Linked DNA regions of Homo sapiens: all the other regions are linked to region 2. The links are contacts of gene promoters, found by promoter capture Hi-C in blood cells and fetal thymus (Javierre and others, 2016). All regions are on one chromosome and are shown on one strand. Each heading gives the region's core, a stretch centred on a gene start or on the middle of the fragment in contact. The rest is flanking DNA. Distances are from core to core; before and after follow the strand shown.

Region 1 (3,626 bases), core at 616-3,115, 81 kb before region 2:
CCTCTCTCTCTCTTCTCCCATTTCCTATTCCAAGCTTCAGGTGAACCAGTCATTAACAATCTCAGCCTATTAACATGCTCTGGTGGCCATAATCGCACTGTAAAGGAAGGGAGGTGGTAATGACAGCTTCCACATCACACATCACACATCACGAAATGCTTTTATACATTAGCCCCTTGGAACCGCAAATGACTCCCCCAACAATAGACAGAAGTTATTATTTCTATTTTATTCATGCGATAGATAACGCAGCAAAATAGGTGAATGGCTGAATGGCTTGGTGTATTACTCAAGACTCATTTTGCAAGTAACAGAAACCCAAATCCTTTTAGCTCAAGAAAAAAATGAGGATTTACTATTCACATACACTGGGAAGTCTAGGGCTGAATTAGGTGGTTTCAGGAATAACCAGAATAAAGGGCTCAAATCATGATATCAGGAGCCACTCTTTTTTCATCGTCCAGCCCTGATTTTCCTCATTCTTTCCTGCTGCAGGGCTTCTTCAAAGTGGCTGAGAAAGATGGTCACTAGCAGCTTACCGTTTATTTGCATGGTCCCAGTTGAATAACCTTAGCAGGAAAAAAAAATCTTTGGGTGTCCCAATGTCTGTATGTCGGGGAATGATTCTGATTAGTACATGTGTCCACCAATCACTGTCATCAAGGGGATGGTGACCACCATCAGCCCAGTCCAGGTCATGAGTCCATCCTGGGCCAGGGTTGTGGAGCCTCTGAGAGTCCTGACACAAGCACAAAGTGAGGGAAAAGTCCATCAAAGAGGGCACATGGCAATATGAAACAAGGGGTCTACTCCGTTTATGTGGCTAGACTGTCCTAGGCTAAAGCTCCCTCTGGAGCCCAGCTCTCACCCTCACTCTACATTCAAGAGTCGTTCGTAAATATGACTGCCTAATAGTGTTCCCTGGATCTGATCATTGCACAGTTCTGTGTCTGCTGTCTGACAGACACTGTGCTAAGTGGTGGGGACATAGCATTGAAGACAAATGTTTTCCAAACCTTACATAGCATTGGCTTTGCATTCTGGGTGACTACGTGATCACCATGATTAGTGATCAAGTTTATCTCTTAAGACATGTAAGAGCCAACTCTCAGCTATGCCTAATTACTCTTTCTCTCTCTTTCTGTCTTCCTTCCCAGGCTCTCTCTGTAACACCTGAGCCATCTAAAAAGGAATGGAACTGCAAGAAGACTACGGATATGATACTCAATGAGATTAAGCAGGGGAAATTCCACAACCCCATGTCCATTGCTCAAATCCTCCCTTCCCTGAAAGGCAAGACATACCTAGATGTGCCCCAGGTCACTTGTAGTCCTGGTAAGACATCCACCTCTCCTTATGTCATAAAGCAGCAACTTATGCCAGAAATGACATGTGGATCAATGTTAAGTGGCATATAGGCTTGTAATGTCCATTATTCCCATGTGGGCAGAGTACATCTGACTCCCAGTCCTTAAGAGTGTGTGCTAGCACACAGACATACCTTCCTGCACTCAGAACTCAGCCCCATATCTACTTCATTCAGCATATATTTACCTAGCTCCTACTATGTGCAAAGCATTTTGTGGGATACTAGAGGTAGAAGAAGCTCCATGGTCCCAGCTATCAAACAACATATAGCTTCATTTATTCATTTCACAAATGTACCATCAAACACTATGCATATCTTATCATATCTGCCTTTCACAAAGTCAGAAGACAGATGTGTAAACAAAAACTACAATATTTGGGACAATCGAGTAAGTATTAAATAGAAGTTAAAGCCACACACAGTGCAAATGCCAAAAAGAAAAATAGTGACCAGTTGTTGATTTTGTTTGGGAGGCTTCAGAGAAGAACAGAATTCATATTTAAATCGAGCCTTAACGATCTAAATATGAAAGCTCGATGCACGCAATATATCAATGAGATGGAGTGGAAACCTAGCATGCCACTTTTTAATTAAAAATATCTTTATTTTATCCAATTATGCATATAATTGAAAGACACTAAAAATTCAAACATTACAGAAATATGCATTTGGAAAGTGGAGGTCTTGCATAAAAACTTATTACTCCAGAGATTACTAGTGTTTGGTATGGATTCCTCAAACTCTTTTTTTTTAATAAAATGCTAACACAAAGCATCATTCCTCTTGCATTGCATGAACTTCCTAAGACAAGAAGCAATTAATAAGTTTCTCGTCTATCTCAATGCAGAATGTGGAGACCAAAATCAAGCAAACTGATCCCAATCCTACCAAAAACTACCACATTCACTCAACCCCTTAGGCTGCTTCCCAGTGATGTCCCAACCTTAACAAGGTGGCCATGGAGTTTTTGCCGGAATTCTATGCTAGTTGTCCAAGTACTTTGTTAAATGGTATGAAACTCACTACTTTCTCAAAATGTCTTCTGGGGTAAGTTGCCAATAACAGAGATTTTGCACCTATGATACAAACCCCATAATCTTTGACAAATGTGGCCTCTTTGCCCTTCACAGATCATGAGGTACAACCAACTCTACCCAGCAACCCTGGCCCTGGCCCCACCTCTGCATCTAACATCACTGTCATATACACCATAAATAACCAGCTGAGGGGGGTTGAGCTGCTCTTCAACGAGACCATCAATGTTAGTGTGAAAAGTGGGTCAGTGTTACTTGTTGTCCTAGAGGAAGCACAGCGCAAAAATCCTATGTTCAAGTGAGTATTACAAATGTCATTCATCATTCTCTCAAGGCCTGATCTGAATTCCCATTTTTTATCCATCCTGTTTTCCTAATTTTTTTCCTTTTGATAACAGATTTTTATTTAATAGCGCTTGAGCAGCTTTCAATCTAATAAATAGGTAAGGCTCTCATGAAAACTTAAATCATATAAGTCAACATATGATGAAGTTTTAAAAACAAAAATTCAGAGGAGATTCGAAAGTCCATTGCAGAGTAGAACAGGCAAAAGAGACTTTGTAGCTTTGAAACACAAAGAATAGGTACTATTTAGGAAGATGTGGGAAGAGGTAAGTCCAGAAAAAGAAATGGCCAGAACAGGCCGGGCGTAGTGGCTCATGCCTGTAATCCCAACACTTTGGGAGGCCCACGCCTGTAATCCCAGCACTTTGGGAGGCTGAGGCATGCGGATCATCTTAGCTCAGGAGTTTCACCAACATGGTGAAACCCCGTCTCTACTAAAAACACAAAATTAGCCAGGCGTGGTGGCACGTGCCTGTAATCCCATCTACTCGGGAGGCTGAGGCAGGAGAATCGCTTGAACCTGGGAGACGGAGGTTGCGGTGAGCCGAGATCATGCCATTGCACCCCAGCCTGGGCAACAAGAGCAAAACTTCATCTCAAAAAAAAAAAAAAAGGAAAAGAAATGGCCAGAACAAAGCATTTGCGATAAGACTGAGCAAGGAATTTGGGGCCAATGAATAGGCCAGGTGGACATACCAGGTTGGGTGACAGTGTAAAAGTCTTGAAATACCAGGTTCAGGAGACTGAACTTCATTTTGCAAGTTTTTGAGTAAGAAAATCCACTTGGTAAAATGTTGCTTAGGTCGTGAGAATAGGAGACAAGGCTAAAACATAGGACATGACTCCAATAATGGAGGTGTGAAGTGACGATGACTTCC
Region 2 (3,368 bases), core at 323-2,822:
GAAGGTCTCATCCAAGCAAGGGAGAAAAAGGATAAACTCTTGTAACATCATCCCAGCAGTCCCTGACATCTGCATTTTCCCAAGAGCACTCACAGTTATTAGCATATTTCACCATTTATTAAGTCCCCCGTGCCATGCACCCTAAAAGTGTTCTTAAGCATCTTCTGTTGCATTTCGACCTTACAACTACCCATTTTACAAATGACAAAACTTAGGCTGGGATTTTAAGGGATCACCAGTAAGCAGTGGAGCCAGGAGACAACCCCAGTTCTAATCCAGTCCAGTGCTTCCCAAACTGTAATGTGCCCATGAATCACCTGGGGAAATGGATGAATAATTAGATTCTGATTCTGCGGGGCTAGACTCAGGCCTAAGCTGCTACACTTGTAACAAGCTCCAAAGTAGATGGACTAAACTCTTGAGTGTCAAGGGCTAGATTTTAATTCTATTAAGGTAGAACCTGTGCCACTGAATCTCCAAGGCTTAGCACTGGACCTCCCCATAGAATACACTCAATAATTATGTACTGAATGAGTCAATGAATATCTGGCTTAAAACCCTATGCGTTAACCCTTTTCTGTATCAAGTTCCATTGTATCAGCTGATCCTCCCAACAAATTCCTAGGGTATGATCATTCCCATTTGATAGATAAGGAAACAGAGACTCACAGTAAGTAACCTAAGGCTTTACAGCTTTTGCGCAGCCAAGGCTGGAGGTAGTCTACCTTCAGATCCTTTGACCTAACCACAGCTGTTCCAAAAGATACGGCGGGGGAGGGGGGGACAATGACACCCGGGGATAACAATTACAGACCACCGGTTGGAGAGGAGCTGACCCATCCCAGCATGTGACCGGCTCACAGCTCCAGAGGTCACCAGAGAGCTCTGAGCTGCTCCCTGGGGGAAGGGGCAGCCAGGCCTGTAGCACCTCAGGAGAGAAACAGGAAAGGGAGAAGGAGGCTGGTCCTGGGCATAGTGCCAGGCAGCAGTGGGCAGGTGGTGAAGGGACCCCTGACCTCCCGGGCCCAAGCACCCGCTTCGGGAACCAGCTCTGGACAGACACTGTCCAGCTTGCGGGGTGGGAGAGTTAGAGGCGTTCAGGAAAATCATTGCCTAGCGATGAATCACCGGGCACATGACCCCGCAGGGGAGGGGAGGGGAGGGTGCGGAACCGGCGCGGGAAGCGGTGGGGGCTTGGGGAGGGCAAGCCTCCGGCTCGGGCCCCCCTCCAGCCTCGACTTGGGGAGCAAAGGGAAGCCCCTCTCCCATGCAGCACCCCTCCTGGCAGCACCCCGCCTGCGGCGAAACTCACGGCCTTCAGCTGCTCCAGACGGTCCTTCATCCTGAAGCCCAGGCGCCCGGAGGCAGGTAGCGCGTCCCAGGTGAGCGCGTCCCAGGTGAGCGCTTCCCAGGTGAGCTGCCGGAAGCGGCGGCCGGGCCCGCCGGGGCGAAGGAGCTGGAGGCGCAGGCGGCGGCGGGCGGCGGCCGCTAGCTAGGAGGAGCGTCCGAGGCCACGGGAGCCTCCGCCGCGCAGCCCCCTCCGCCCCCACCGGCGCCTCGCGCTCCAAATCCGGCTCCCGGGCCGGCGCCGGCGCAGCGCTGATCCGCCCTGGACCCGCCCCTACCTGGCCGCGCCCCTCGCTCCTTCTTAAAGGGCCCGCGTCCCGCCACCGCCCGGCCGCCCGGGGCGTCTCCAAAGCCCCCTTCCCTAACCCGAGAGCCCTCCAGACACGCGTGGAGTCCGGGGAGAGGCCCCTGCACCGGCGGATCCTGCCGCAGGGCCGAGGAAGAGCAAGAGCGACTGTCTGGCTGCGGTCATTCGCTGTCTGTGCCGGGCTCCTCGCTAGGATCCAGTTCTTAGCCGACTCCTTGCTAGGCGGGGACAAGCTCCCGAAAACAAATAAGACAATGTGATGTGGGCTACATTGGGTGGCAGTCGAGTGTTCTAAAAATATCCCGCCAGGAGGAAGGCATTCCGAGTAGCGGGATCCCGCGCAGCCTCAGGGCTGCTGGCAGTGAAAGTGGGGGGATGGAGGAGGTGTCCAGAGGAAAGACCTGGAGATCTGGAGATACAGGACGGTCAGGGTGGTCAGAGAATTTGGATCTTTTGCTTGTTGGAAATCGGGACCGCTCCGAGAAACGTAAGCAGCTCGATGTTGTTAGTGCCAGTGGAGACACTTGGCACTCACAATTTGCAGACGTTTGGGAAAGCATCGTTTCTCAAGAGGACCCCGTTCCCGTGTCTGTAAATCAGAGATGGTACCCACTTCGTAGTTCGCTGTGAAGCCTGTGAGCGAGGAGGGGCTTTAAAATACAGAACTTTGCACTGGAGCGCTCCCCGTCCTCGCAGCCTGCTTGGTGTGCAGGTGGTTCCCAGGCGGCTTCTGCTTCCGAAAAGCAGATCGTCCCTTTATCTCGAGTCTTCTCCCCGCCTCTCCCTCTTCTCCCTACCCTATTTGTCTTCTTGGGAACAAATGGCACATTCATCAGAGTGGAGATCCATAAACGGGACTGGCGAGCCGAAGATTTAATTCTGAAGAATAGGATCTGCTCTGTGCTTTCAGGTTAAAAAGCTGTAAATATCTTTGTAATTCTAGCAGTACTTTGCCCTCTTCTGCCATCTGAACGCGTGCTCCCTGCTGACCTCATCGGCTCCCATAAAGATACGGTGCGTATGGCAGAGGTCGGGCTTTGAGCCGGCCCCGCGGGTCTCGGCCGTAGTTCTCTCTCGCGTCCGGCACACTTCCTTCTGCCCGCTGTGCTCGCTGGGCAGGTTGTCCCCGCCTTAGTACCAGGAGGGCTTCCGCGCCCCCTGGTGGTCATACTAGGAAAGGCGAGTAGATCAGAAATACACACTGTCCCACCTCCTTCCCCTAACACATTTTTGGGGAGTTTGGGGGTTGTTTGTTTGTTTGTTTGTTTGTTTGTTTGTTTTTTAGACAGAGTCTCATTCTGTTGCGCAAGTTGAGTGCAGTGGCGCGATCACCGCTCTCTGCAGCCTCGATCCCCTGGGCCCAACCCATCCTCCCATCTCAGCCTCCCAAGTAGCTGGGATTACAGGCGTGCGCCACTACGCCCGGCTAATTTTTGTGTTTTTTTCGTAGAGATAGGGTTTCGCCATGTTGCCCAGGCTGGTCTGGAACTCCTGTATTCAAGCCATCCGCCCGCCTCGGCCTCTCGAAGGGCTGGGATTACAGGCGTGCGCCACTGCGCCCTGCCCCTTAACAGATTTTTGTTAGTGGGAATACGTAGTTCCCCGCGCTTCAAGAAAATAGAGTCTTCCGCGAGAGGCCGAGATATGAACAACCCTTCACGTTAGGAATCTGAAAAGGACCATTGGGGTCTGGAGTAAAAAATTCTCTTTCCAC
Region 3 (3,498 bases), core at 3-2,502, 100 kb before region 2:
GAGCTCAGCTCACTGCGACCTCCGCCTCCCGAGTTCAAGCGATTCTCCTGCCTCAGCCTCCTGAGTAGCTGGGATTACACCTGCCTCAGCCTCCTGAGTAGCTGGGATTACAGGCATCCACCACCACGCCCGGCTAATTTTTTCTATTTTTAGTAGAGACAGAGTTTCACCATGTTGGCCAGGCCGGTCTCGAACTCCTGACCTCAGGTGATCCACTCACCTTGGCCTCCCAAAGTGCTGGGATTACAGGTGTGGGCCACTGCGCCCAGCCAGTATCTTTTTCCTTTCTTATTGGCCTCCTAAGACCTTATTATACATTCTGCGGTTCCTATACTAACTTTGATTTTGCTCATACGATTCCCTTCCCCTCCCTGACATGTACTCTTCTCATCTTCAGCTTTACTTCCCCATAGCCAATGCTTCTAGGAAGCTTTTCCTAACTACAATTTCTCTAAGAAACTCTAGAGTCTACTACAATCTGCTTTCTTGTTCTATCACACGTAGTTTACACTTTCACACACACAGTAGTCCCCCCATTATCCACAATTTCACTTTCCACAGTTTCAGTCACCCAAGGTCAACTGAGGCTTGAAAATATTAAATGGAAAATTTCAGAAATAACGCATAAGTTTTAAATTGTGCATAATTCTGAGTAGTGTGATAAAATCTTGCACCTTCCCGCTCTGTTCCACCCAGGAAGTGACTCATCCCTTTGTCTATGCTTGTTAATCACTTAGTAGCCGGTTATCAGATCAACTGTCCCAACATTGAAGTGCATGTGTTCAAGTAACCCGTATTTACTTAATAATGGCCCCAAAGCACAAGAGCAATGGTGCTGTAATATATTATTATAATTGTTCTATTTGATTATTGCTGTTGTTAATCTCCTACTGTGCCTAATTTATAAACTGAACTTTATTATAGGAGTGGATGTATAGGGAAAAAACATAGTATATTTAAGGCTCAGTACTATCCATGGTTTCAGGCATCCACTGTAGGTCTTGGAATGTATCCCCCGCTGATAAGAGCAAACTACCCCATCACCTCCATTTCCTAAACTAGGAGCATGAGTCACAGTAACTGTGTCAGTAATCTAACTAATCTCACAAAACCAGAAAGTGGTGTAGATTGGGATGGGACCTGGGCTGTTGTTCTCAAAACTCACACTCAGCACCTACACTGTCGTGCATATGCTCTTTGAGGTCTGAGACTTTATTCCTGCATTCATTCAGCCATTGATTTACAAACTCTAAGGGGATGATATAAGAAGCGATCAAGGAAGGTTTACAGAAAAAAAAAAAACTTTACTGCATCATCAGTATGAATAGATATTTTCCAGGCTGACTCAGGGCTAGAGGACTTTCAAGGGAGAGACGACAGTGAGGACAAAGACCCAAAAGCACAAAAGAATGTTAGGCATTTTAAGGTCAAGGTGTTCGGCATGACCAGCACAGAGTCCTTGGGAAACATAACAGGAGGCTGGAGGTGTAAGCACGGGTCCAGTCATAAGGTTATCTGTATTGTTGTTGTTACTATTTATGTTGTTGATTGCCTTACTAAGTTTGAACTGAATATAAACTGCTTTCCCATTTTCATTGCATATTTGAATCACCTGAAGGAGCTCTTAGAAAACACTAATACCCAGGCCCACACCAGCCAGGTAGTACAGAAATTTAGAGGTGGAGCCTGGGCCTTGCTCTGGTTTAAAAGCCCTACAGGTGATACAAATTCACAGTAGGATCAAGAGCTAATTGCCTACAACACATTGTTGGGTATTTTTAAATATTAATAACATTTAATTTATTGTTATGTATGTGAATAACATTTATTGACGTGTCTTAAGAGGAAATGTACTATGACCAGTTTTTCTTTTTTCTTAATATCCCACAAATGCTTGTGGACAACTTGGTTAGCTTAAGAACCTCCAAGAAAAGATGAAAACAGGAACTGTCCATCCCTGGGAAACTACAGAGCAGCATGTTCAAGTCCGACCCACCTTAGTTCCTGTCTTGCTTACCCCAATGCCCTCCTAACTTTTACTACCTCACAATTCTGCCCCTTCAATCAAGCTTACATTCTGCTGCCAGGAGAGTTTCTGTTTAATGAACAATTAGACTCCCCATTGTCAATCAAATAATGTCAGACACCTCCTCATCGTTGTCAATCAAATGAGGTCAGACATCTCATCATAAAATTCAAGCATCTACTAGTCTAGCCCAACTTCCTTCTCCAGCCTGTTTTTCCACAGTTGCCTCCAATGTTCCCCATACATCAGTTCTCCTAAACCAGGAGGAATCCCCTGAGGAACTTTGCTAAAATGCAGATACTGTCATCATTGCCAGGTCATGTCCTGGCCATTCCTACCTAACACCTTTGTTCATGTTGTTCCTCTTGAGTGCTCTATCCTACTCTCCAAGGCCTAACTCAAATACCACCTTCTCCAGGAAGCTTTTTTTTTTTTAGCTTCATTAAATGTTTGTGAGCTCCTCTCCTCTTTTGAAAGAGGCATCCCACTAGATGCATCCCTTAGGGCATTCCTCTGGCAACTCCTTTTACAGTAGTTTGTTAATATTTATTGAGTGTCTCCTATATGACAGGTATTTCCCAGCACTGGGATACAGAAATGAATGTGGCAAAGTCTGCCTTCATTGGAACTATTATAGCTTGTGTTATTAAGCAGTTCCAACCTCCCTGCCCAAACTAGTTTATAAGCTTCTGGATAACAAGAAAGATAACTGAGTTATCTGAGGTGCTTCCTAGGTAGTCAATGTTCAATTAATACTGAATTAGTTACATATATAGTTATAGATAAGGCTTCCCCCTTATTTGAAGTGTCTCATATTCTCTCTCTGTCTCTCTTTATCTCTCATCACCCCCCCACCCCACCCTGCCTCATTAGGCCCTCTTTGTATCATCAGACTATTATAATGAAAATGACTGGAATTGCCAACAAACTCTGAATACAGTGCTCACGGAAATTTCTCAAGGAGCATTCAGCAATCCAAACGCTGCAGCCCAGGTCTTACCTGCCCTGATGGGAAAGACCTTCTTGGATATTAACAAAGACTCTTCTTGCGTCTCTGCTTCAGGTATAAGCATTAAAGAGAGCACACTGTTTCGCTTTTCACCATAGCACCCAAAGCATGTGAGATTCAGGTGTCCTTTGAAACCAAAAGTGACCAGATAAACCTCCAAAACATAACAGTTGCCAGAGAGAATTCAGTTTTCCTCATGTTACCAGGGTTTACAGTCACCTGAGGATTTGTTCTTAACTGAGTGCTAGATGTCCCTCTTAGTTCAAACATTAACAAGGCAGACCTGATTAAATAATGTCTATCTCCAAAGGTGTATTTTCTGACTGTTGGATATAGAAGGATCTGAGCATCATTCTCATCCTAAATAAAGTATGGAGTATTGGTACCGTGACTCTGACTTTGCACAGTGAGTGATCCCTTAGGGAAATGAGACATCTGTGTGGAAGTGATATGCCAGTATTCA

The links. Contacts are between HindIII fragments. The CHiCAGO score rates a contact against its expected background, and 5 or more counts as called.
Region 1: a fragment that was not itself captured here is called in contact with the fragment with the promoter of STX3 in region 2 in 1 of 17 cell types (neutrophils); the score reaches 5.3 in neutrophils.
Region 3: a fragment that was not itself captured here is called in contact with the fragment with the promoter of STX3 in region 2 in 1 of 17 cell types (neutrophils); the score reaches 6.7 in neutrophils.

Annotation. Positions count from the first base shown.
Region 1 is chr11:59,834,883-59,838,508 of GRCh38, reverse strand. CBLIF (cobalamin binding intrinsic factor) reads left to right here. Exons shown (of 9, transcript NM_005142.3): 6 at 1,158-1,335; 7 at 2,500-2,701. Among named protein-coding and RNA genes, the nearest start is that of CBLIF, 8.8 kb to the left of the region's middle. The HindIII fragment of the contact is 3,658 bases long and covers 37-3,626 here.
Region 2 is chr11:59,753,580-59,756,947 of GRCh38, reverse strand. It overlaps STX3 (syntaxin 3), which reads right to left and starts at 1,572. Exons shown (of 11, transcript NM_004177.5): 1 at 1,313-1,572. The coding sequence starts at 1,342. RefSeq lists a silencer at 1,372-1,631 and enhancers at 2,502-2,661, 2,598-2,892, 2,658-2,952, 2,642-3,142. The HindIII fragment of the contact is 11,536 bases long and covers 1-3,368 here.
Region 3 is chr11:59,855,460-59,858,957 of GRCh38, reverse strand. It overlaps TCN1 (transcobalamin 1), which reads left to right. Exons shown (of 9, transcript NM_001062.4): 6 at 2,900-3,089. Among named protein-coding and RNA genes, the nearest start is that of TCN1, 9.3 kb to the left of the region's middle. The HindIII fragment of the contact is 1,639 bases long and covers 433-2,071 here.